Regions from separate parts of the Homo sapiens genome. Here region 2 is linked to region 1. The links are contacts of gene promoters, found by promoter capture Hi-C in human tissues and cell types (Jung and others, 2019). All regions are on one chromosome and are shown on one strand. Each heading gives the region's core, a stretch centred on a gene start or on the middle of the fragment in contact. The rest is flanking DNA. Distances are from core to core; before and after follow the strand shown.

What was found. Contacts are between HindIII fragments. The study calls those that stand out against the background at their distance.
Region 2: a fragment that was not itself captured here is called in contact with the fragment with the promoter of NINL in region 1 in 2 of the 25 tissues and cell types used here (H1 embryonic stem cells and ovary).

Annotation. Positions count from the first base shown.
Region 1 is chr20:25,582,578-25,587,761 of GRCh38, reverse strand. NINL (ninein like) reads left to right here and starts at 2,231. Exons shown (of 24, transcript NM_025176.6): 1 at 2,231-2,307. RefSeq lists a silencer at 2,167-2,296. The HindIII fragment of the contact is 43,094 bases long and covers 1-5,184 here.
Region 2 is chr20:25,448,037-25,453,220 of GRCh38, reverse strand. It overlaps GINS1 (GINS complex subunit 1), which reads right to left. Exons shown (of 7, transcript NM_021067.5): 7 at 4,658-5,184. It overlaps NINL (ninein like), which reads left to right. Exons shown (of 24, transcript NM_025176.6): 24 at 1-524. Among named protein-coding and RNA genes, the nearest start is that of GINS1, 43 kb to the right of the region's middle. The HindIII fragment of the contact is 3,339 bases long and covers 1,503-4,841 here.

The DNA.
Region 1 (5,184 bases), core at 982-3,481:
GTCATCGGGGTCTTGGCTGCGCATCCCACAGGGACCACCTTTGCACGGTGTGTCCTGCCATTGTGCCCCACACTGGTTGGGACAGGTCATGGGCATAGCAAAAGGTATCTGGGCACATTCAGCAGGTCAGAGAAACCTCCCAGCCTAGAACACACTATGAGCGTCTCTGAACCACTCCCTGTGTTTGCCTTTTGCTCTGCATGGGGTTTAGCACTTGCAGGCACTTGGAAATTTCACTCGCCCTTGGAAACTCCGTTCCCCCATAGCCTGTCTTTCATCCTGCTTCCTTCTCACCCCATTTTGCCTCTGATCCTCACATCCTCTAAAGTGGAGTTCCTACAAAGTATATGCACCTTTCTCATGCTACAGTGTACTGTAGCTCATTTTGTAATTCTGATATAACTCTCTGACATTTTTGTATATTTATGTTTTTATTTTTATTTTTTGGAGACAGAGTCTTGCTCTGTCGCCCAAGCTGGAGTCTAGTGGCAAGATCTCAGCTCACTGCAACCTCCGACTCCTGGGTTCATGCAATTCTTGTGCCTCAGCCTCACGAGTAGCTGGGACTACAGGCGCGCGTTAACCACAACTGGCTAATTTTTTTGTGTTTCAGTAGACACTGGGTTTCACCATGTTGGCCACGCTGGTCTCGAACTCCTGTCCTCAGGCAATCTGCCCACAGTGGCCTCCCAAACTACTGGGATTACAGGCATGAGTCACCGTGCCTGGCTGTATTTACTTTTTTTTTTCTTTTTTTGAAATGGAGTCTCACTCTGTCGCCCAAGCTGGAGTGCAGTGGCTTGATAACCACAACCTCCGCCTCCCAGATTCAAGCGATTCTCCTGTCTCAGCCTCCTGAGTAGCTGGGATTACAGGCATATGCCATCACGCCCGGCTAATTTTGTATTTTTAGTAGAGACGGGGTTTCTCCATGTTGGTCAGGCTGGTCTTGAACTCCCGACCTCAGGTGATCCGCCTGCCTCAGCCCCCCAAAGTGCTGGGATGACAGGCATGAGCCACTATGCCCGGCCGGGTATTTACGTTTTTAAATTGTTTTCTGTGTAAACTCTATAAGGGCCAGGGATTTTTTGCACCGCTGTTGGCAGCCCCTAGGACAATGCCTGGCCCTAGTAGGTGTTCGATAAATATATACAGGTTGAATATCCCTTAACCGAGATGCTTGGCACCAGAAGCATTTAGGATTTCAGATTTTGGAATATTTGCATTATACCAATTGAACACCCCTAATCTGAAAATCCAAAATTAGAAATGCTCCAATGAGGCCAGGTGCGGTGGCTCATGCCAGTAATCCCAGCACTATGGGAGGCCAAGGTGGGAGGATCACTTGAGGCCAGAAATTCCAGACCAGCCTGGGCAACATGGTGAAGCCTCCTCTCTTAAAAAAATACAGGCCGGGCGCGGTGGCTCACGCCTGTAATCCCAGCACTTTGGGAGGCCGAGGCGGTGGATCCATCCCTTGAGCCTAGGAGTTCGAGACCAGCCTGGGCAACACAGTGAGACTCTGTGCTAAAAATACAAAAATTAGCGGACATGGTGGCAGATGCCTGCAGTCCCAGCTACTGGGGGTTGGGACGCTGAGGCGGGAGGATCGCCATAGCCGGGAAAGTCGAGGCTGTAGTGAGCCATGACCGCGCCACTGCATCCCAGGCTGGGCAGCAGAAGTGACAGCCTTTCTCAAAAGAAAAGAAAGTTAAAAGAAGAAAAAAGAAGTGCTCCAATGTGCATTTCCTTTGAGCATCAGGTCAGCGCTCAAAAACTTTCAGATTTTGAAGCATTTCGGATTTCAGATGTTTGGATTAGGGATGCTCAACCCGTATTGATTTAATATGCGGTGGAAACGTGACGACCTAGGTTTTAAGTCGCGGTTTCCTCAGTGGTGGGTTTGGGGTATTACCCCTGCCTGGCCGGCCTCCGGGCTTGTTTCCAGAAGATGCTACCCCGAGAGCTGCGAACCGCCAAGCTCCGCAGCGCGCAGGGCTCCGACAGGGACCAGCGAGGTCAGCTCCAAGGGTCACCCCAGGCTCCAAACTGGCCAGAGCCGCCCTGAGATTTGCGGAGGCCGCCTTGCCCCCACCCCGCCCCGCAATCCCGGACCCGACCCGCCCCCTCTCCCGTTCGCTCGCCCCGCCCCCTGTTCGCCCACTGCGCCGGGACACCGAGGGGGCGGTGCCTCGAGGCCGGGAGGAGTGTTGCGTCGCGGCCTCCAGACACAAAGAGCGGCCGGCGGTACGGGGGTGGTGCCGCGCTCCTGGCCCCGCGCGGGCGGACGGCGGAGGCGCCTCCCAGGTGAGCCGGCCCGGGCGTCCGGCGGGACATTCAGGCGGCTGGTGGGGTCGAGAGTCCGGGGCCGCCCCTGCGTCGCGACCCGCGCCTTAGTCACCAGACCCGGCTCCGGGAGCGCGGCCTCGGGTGCTCCTCGCGGTGCGGGGCGCAGACTCGGCGCATCTGCTGTGGTGCCTGCTCTTCCGGTCGCCCTCGAGGGCGGGGCGGGGGTCACGCCCTAAAATACAGCGCCCGCTGGGCCGAACGCTTGAAAACCCGGTTTCCCGACGGCGGCGGCGCGGGCGCCGTGCGAACGAGGGCCCGGGTCCAGCACAGCCCCAAGGCTCGGCCTGAGGCGGGCGGCCTTGGCCGGGGCCCCCCGTGGTAATGAGCTACGCGGTGCCCGCCGCCTGCCCAGCGCGGGCCGTTTCTCCTGACGCCGCCGGCGTCTGGTCGAGGCCCAGGATTCCCTCCTGCCAGTGTGGCTGCGGCCCCCCACGGAGCGGGACCCGCGTTCGTGGCGCTTGGGACGGTTGATTGAAAGGGTGTAGAAGTCTGTTGCGAATTTTATCTGTTGTACTCGTTTTGCAGATTCGCCCCTTTCCTCCCGCCTGTGCGCGCAGTCACACACACCATGTGGGAGTCTCTGATCGCGTTGGGTTCATAATCATCGATCGTGCCTGGGTACTGATGCCCCATTGTTAGGAGCTCTGTGTGGGGCTGTATGTTTGCACAGGACTCACGTGAGGAAGGGTGGCCACGTTTCTTTCTGCTCTGTGAGACTTAGGCCAAGCCCTGGAACTAGGGAGGAGGTTCAGGAAGAGACCCATGAAGCTGGCGGGGCCTTGGAGAAGGGCAAGTGATTTTCAAGGTCAGTAGTAAGAGGGGTCATGAGTAATGGTAAGTTTCTTAGCGGCCTTTGCTGTGACTTCTAGGTTTTTCACACTGGACTTAAAATACTTTTAAAAGCAGAGTTTTTGTTCTTCTTGTTGTTGTTCTTGTTGTTGTTGCTGTTTTTGAAACGAAGTTTCACTCTTGTTGCCCAGGCTGGAGTGCAATGGCGCCATCTCGGCTCACTGCAACCTCTGCCTCCCGGATTCAAGCGATTCTCCTGCCTCAGCCTCCCGAGTAGCTGGGATTACACGCCCAGCTAATTTTTTGTGTTTTTAGTGGAGATGGGGGTTTCACCATGTTGGCCAGGCTGGTCTCGAACTTCTGACCTTCAGGTGATCCAGCTGCCTCGGCCTCCCAAAGTTCTGGGATTACAGGCGTGAGCCACTGCACCCGGCCAAGTTTTTGTTTTGTTTTGTTTTTGTTTTTTAATTTTATTTTACTTTAAGTTCTGGGATACATGTGCAGAACGTTCTGGTTTGTTACATGGGTATACATGTGCCATGATGGTTTGCTGCACCTATCAACCCGTCATCTAGATTTTAAGCCCCACATACATTAGGTATTTGTCCTAATGCTCTCCCTCCTCTTGCCCCCCACCCGCCCCGACAGGTCCCGATGTGTGAGGTGTGTGATGTTCCCCTCCCTGTGTCCATGTGTTCTCATTGTCAACTCCCACTTATGAGTGAGAACATGCGGTGTTTGGTTTTCTGTTCTTGTGTTAGTTTGCTGAGAATGATGGCTTCCCACTTTATGCATGTCCCTGCAAAGGACATGAACTCATTCTTTTTTATGGCTACGTAGTATTCCATGGTGTATCTGTACCACATTTTCTTTATTCAGTCTATCCGTGATGGGCATTTGGGTTGGTTCCAAGTCTTTGCTATTGTAAATAGTGCTGCAATAAACATACACGTTTATGTGTCTTTATAGTAGAATGATTTATAGTCCTTTGGGTATATACCCAGTAATGGGATCACCGGGTCAAATGTTATTTCTGGTTCTAGATCCTTGAGGAATCGCCACACTGTCTTCCACAATGGTTGAACTAATTTACACTCCCACCAACAGTGTAAAAGCGTTCCTATTCCTCCACAGCCTCTCCAGCATCTGTTGTTTCCTTGCTTTTTAATAATTACCATTCTAACTGATGTGAGATGGTATCTCATTGTGGTTTTGATTTGCATTTCTCTAATGACCAGTGATGATGAGCTTTTTTTTTAATATATGTTGTTGGCTGCATAAATGTCTTCTTTTGAGAAGTGTCTGTTCATTTCCTTTGGCCACTTTTTGATGGGGTTGTTTTTTTCTTGTAAATTTGTTTAAGTTCCTTCTATATTCTGGATATTAGACCTTTGTCAGAAGGGTAGATTGCAAAAATTTTACCCCGTTCTGTAGGTTGCCTGTTCACTCTGAAGAGTTTCTTTTGCTGTGGAGAAGCTCTTAGGTTAGATCCCATTTGTCAGTTTTGGCTTTTGTTGCCATTGCTTTTGGTGTTTAGTCATGAAGACTTTGCCCATGCCTATGTCCTGAATAGTATTGCCTAGGTTTTCTTTTAGGTTTTTTATGGTTTTGGGTTTTACATTTAAGTCTTTAATCCATCTTGAGTTAATTTTTGCATAAGGTGTAAGGAAGGAGTCCAGTTTCTGTTTACTGCATATGGCTAGCCAGTTTTCCCAGCACAATTTATTAAATAGGAAATCCTTTCCCCATTGCTTGTTTTTGTCAGGTTTGTCGAAGATCAGATAGTTGTAGAAAGCAGAGTTTGTTTTTTTTTTAAGTAGTTAAAACTCATCTGTTAAACAGAACACTGAATCAGCAGCCTAGCAGTTTTATGAACTGTGTGCAAGAATGCTTGTATATTAAAAGGAAAATGTTCAGGTGTTAGAGAAGCAGTCTACTTTCATGCTTGTCCCTTTTGTTTGACTTATACATCATCCATTAGTGGTTTAAATGATGACAGATTGAATTGATCTGTATTGGCAAATAAAAGTGGGATGTGTGTTTATG
Region 2 (5,184 bases), core at 1,923-4,422, 140 kb after region 1:
AATTTCCCTTGGCAAAATTCCCAGTTTTGCCACTCTCTGGAGCCAGATCCTGGGAGCTGTCAGCAAGGAGCAGGTAAGTGAGCAGTTATGGACAGCACTTTCCATGTGGTGCTTCCGACCCTGGCTGTCAGAGTGAAATGTAAAGTCAGGGCTCTGTACAGTTTTGCCATTTCACTGTTCTGCTTTAAGCTTAGCTTATTAGAACTCTTGGTGGAGGGTGCGTACACACATTCCAGAAAAGGCTTCACTCGCTGGGAACGTCAACCCAGCGAGAAAGGAGGGGAAGCCCCTTCTCCGGGGACCTTATCTGTGGACTCAGGAATGATGGTGTTTATTGCAAATGCACAATCTTTTTCCCATTGAAATGTCATCACACTGGAAATTGTACTATATGTAAAAAAAAAAAAAAGTATAGTTTTATATTTGAAATGTATGCAAATTATGGCCATATGGCTGATTGGAATGTACTACTGTAATATAAAAAGTCACTGTATTTGCAATAAATTCTTTTCTATTAAAATTGACTTCTAAGTTTGTTTTTAATTTTTTAAACTATAAAATATTTCAAACATAGAGGAAAATAGTTATGTAAGAAACACCCATGTGCCCATCAACATATCTAGTAAGAATAATATCCTGCCACAGCACTGTGGAGGGCGGGAGCCTGTTCTGTTCTCAGCCTCCTCCCTCTTCCCGGGGCAGCCGCCATCCCAAAGCTGGCATGTCTTCTCCTTTCTGCAGGAGAAAAATGTCACAGCACCGTGGAAAGATAACAAAGCCTGGAACAGATGGAAAGGTCGGTTCTTTGGAAGATTCGGCAACATGAAGTTGACTGGTTCTTCAAAGTTTACTGATGATAAATGTAATTAATCCCAATATAAATACAGATGTTACATGCCCCAATCAACCCCAGAATTGGACAAGACATTCTAAAGTTTTTACATACAACTAAATAAGCAAACAAAACAATTAGGAAAACTCTGAAGAAAGAAGAGCAATGTATGGGGACTAGTTCTACCAGTTATTAATATGTAAGTCCTAATACAGTTTATGTTACATGGGTGTATGCATTTGTCAAAACTCATTGAGGAGTACACTTCTTCATTCACTTTGGGCTTCTGTCTGAGACTGGAGTAACGAGATTGGAGTAACCAGGAGACCTGAACAACATTATCAATCTACTGACATCTAGAACCCACCACACGACACCAGTAGAAGCAAATGCAGCCAAACACTTACCAAGACAGACCATATCTTGGGCCAACAAATCTCAAAAAATTACGAAGATTCAAGCCATACAATGTATGTACTGTGACCACAATGGAACTAAATTAGAAATCTGTCCCCCAATACGAAGCTGGAAACCATCATTCTCAGCAAACTGTCACAAGGACAGAAAACCAAACACCGCATGTTCTCACTCATAGGTGGGAATTGAAAAATGAGAACACTTGGACACAGGAAGGGGAACATCACACACCGGGGCCTGTCCTGGGGTAGGGGGAGGGGGGAGGGATAGCATTAGGAGCTATACCTAATGTAAATGATGAGTTAATGGGTGCAGCACACCAACGTGGCACATGGATACATATGTAACAAAACTGCACATTGTGCACATGTACCCTAGAACTTAAAGTATAATAAAAAAATAAAAAATGAGGTAAAGTGAAATAAATAAATAATTACCTGTGCCCTGAAAAAAAATATATATATATCCCCCAATATTTGGAAACTGAACAACATACTGCTGAATAACGCATGAGGCAAAGAAGAGATAAGAGGGGAAGTTGGGAAATATCCTGGATTGAATGGAAATGAAAACACAATATATCAAAATTTGTGGGGTAGAGTGAAAGCATTACTTAGGGGAAAAGTCTTAGCACCAAACACCCAGGTTAGAAGAAAGGTCTCAAATCAACGACTTGAGCTTCTACCTTAAATAATTAGACAAAGAAGAGCAAATTAAACCTAAAGTCAAAAGAAAAGAAAATGATGATGATCACAGCAGAAACCAAGGAACGGAACAGATTGGCTGTGCCATGCTGCAGGCTAGAGCTGCTGTGTTAAGTTTGGTTGGCACGGCCACACTCAGTTACAGATTCCCTACGTCCACAGATTCCCTACGCCTGCTTCGTGCTCCAGCAGCAGCACGGAGCGGCTGTTAACAGGTCATGTGGCCCACAAAGCCTAATACACAGAAAACATTTGTTGACCCTTGAAATAGAAAACAAAGAATAGAGAAAGTAAACCAAAGACATGTTCTTTCAGAAGATTAGTAAAACTGATAAACTTCTAGTCCAGTCAGAATAAAAGAAAAGAAAAACTAATACCAAAAATGAGAAGTGATATCACTACAGGTAATACCACTATAGTCTACAGATATACAAGCATCATAAGGCAATATTATGAAGAACATTTTTATTTTTTGAGACAGGGTCTCACTGTTGCCCAGGCTGGAGTGCAGTGGCATGATTATAGCTCACTGCAGCCTCCAACTCCCGCTTCAGCCTCCCGAGTAGCTGAGACTACAGGTGCACAGCACCACACCTGGCAATTTTTTTTTTTTCCTGACGTCTCGCTATGTTGCCCGGGCTGGTCTCAAACTCCTGAGCTCAAGCGATCCTTCTGACTTGGCCTCCCAAAGTGCTGGGATTGCAGGCGTGAGCCACCGTGCCCAGCCCATGAACAACTTTATATAAATAAATTTGGTAACTTAGATAAAATGGAGAATACATAAATTGCCAAAGCTCATTCGAGAAAAAAAATGGATAACCAAAATAGCCATGTATTTATTAAGCCAAAACTGTGGTTAAGCTTCCCACAAAGAAACTTCGGGCCTAGATGGCTTAAATATGAACTCTATAAACATTTAAGAAATAAATAATACCAAGTATATAAAACGTATGATAGATATATTGATTTCATCCATGGCTCCTTGTCTGTAACTAACTCCCATGGCCTTCGTTGCAGTCTTGTAATGCTTGGGCATTTTAGGCCTCAGAAGACATTCTCTTTCTGCCCTTCTGCCCTCCTTTCACCTGCTCCTTTTCCCGCCTTTCTGTCTTGGAGCTGGCCATAAAGAAATTCTCTGTGATCAGAAGGGGCACTGCCTCATACTCTGAAAGAAGAAATGCAGCAGAGGCTAAGAACCAGAGCAGACGGGCCTGGCTGAATGGCGCCACTCAGACTGTGAGCATTAGATCATACCCTCTTAGTCCAATCGTCTCTCTGCTTGGTTGTTGATAATGCCTATCTAATGAGATTTCTATAAAAGGCCCAAAAGGACAGGGTGTGGAGAGCTTCCGGATTGCTGAACATATGGAGGCTCCTGGAGGGTGGTGAGCATCGAAGCTCCATATCCTTTCCCCATACCTTACCCTATGCATCGCTTCCATTTGGGTCCTTTCATCTGCGTATTTTACCATATCCTTTACAATAAACCAGTAAGCTTAAGTGTTTCTGAGTTCTGTGAGCTGCTCAAGCAAATTAATTGAATCCAAAGAGTGGGGCATGGGAACTCCAACTTGAAGCTAGTTGGTCAGAATCTCAGAGGCCCACACTTGTGGCTGGTGTCTCAAGGGAGGGCAGTCTTGGACTGAGCCCTGACCCTGTGGGATCTGACGCTATCTCCAGGTAGTGTCGGAACTGAAATAGAAGTAGAGGACACACCTGCTCTCCACTGCAGAGCTTGGTATGTGGGAAAAACCCCCATGCATTTGGTCACAGTCTTCTGTGTTGTTGTTGTTAAGTGACAGAACAGTTTTTTTTTTCTATTTAGAAAACTCTTCCAAAAAACTGAATAGGAGGGATTATTTTCCCAAGAACACCAGACCAGTATTTCTCATGCACACTGATGCAAAAATTCTACAAAAAAATTTCAAATAAAATCTTACAAAAAGGAGAATATATCATGACCAGGTGTGGTTTATGCCAGGAATCCAGGGTAGGTTTAACATTGAAAACTCAATCGATCAATCAGCCACTGTAATTCACCAGACTAACAAACTAAAAGACAAAACCATCTCAACAGATGCAGAAAAAAGATATGACAAAATCCAGCATCCATTTCTGACTTTTAAAAAAATTCTCAGTAAACTAGGTGTATTAGTCGTCTTATGCTGCTAATAAAGACATACTGGAGAGTGGGTAATTTATAAAGGAAAGAGATTTAATTGACAGTTCCACATGGCTGGGGAGGCCTCACAATCACAGCATAAGGCAAATGGATAGGGACCAAAGTCACGTCTTACATGGTGGCAGGCAAAAGAGCATGTCCAGGGGAACTCCCATTTATAAAACCATCAGATCTCGTGAGACTTATTGACTAACACCAGAAAAGTATGGGGAAAACTACCCCCTTGATTCAATTATTTCACCTGGCCCTGCCCTTGACACATGGGAATTATTACAGTTCAAGTTGAGATTTGGGTAGGGACACAGCCAAACCATATCACTAGGAATAGGAAGGAACTTCCTACCCCAATAAAGGGCATCTACAAACAACTTAAGAGCTAACAAACATCATAATAGTGAAAGACTGTTTTCCTTCTTAGATCAGGAACAAGATAGGGGTGTCTTTGACCACATATATTTAGTACTCTACTGGAAGTTCTAACCAATGCCATCAGGCAAGAAAAAGAAATAAAAGGCATTCAGATTAGAAAGGAAGGAGTAAAACTCTTTATTCATAGAACACATGACTGTTGATGTAATTTACAAAAACACCATGAGAACTCACAGTTTAGCAAGGCTGAAGGATACAAGTTCAACATCAATTGTATTTCTATTTACTAGCAACAAGTGGTTAGAATTTGAAATTTTAAAATACCATTTAGCATCAAAACTATGAAATGCTGACATGGTAGACCTGTACACTGAAAACTACAAAAGATTATTAAGAGAAATAGAAGACAAAACATTAATACCTAGGAAGACAGACCTTGTTTATAGGCCAGAAGACTCAATATTATTAAGATGTCAATTCTCCCAACAGTTTTATATAAATTCAATGCAATCTCAATCAAGGTGCCCAACAGGGGTTTTTGTTGTTGTTGTTGTAGAAATTGACAAATTGATCCTAATTTCTTTTTGAGATAGAGTCTCACTTTGTCACCCAGGCTGGAGTACAGTGGTGTGATCTCAGCTCACTGCAGTCTTGACCTCTGGGGTTCAAGTGATCCTCCC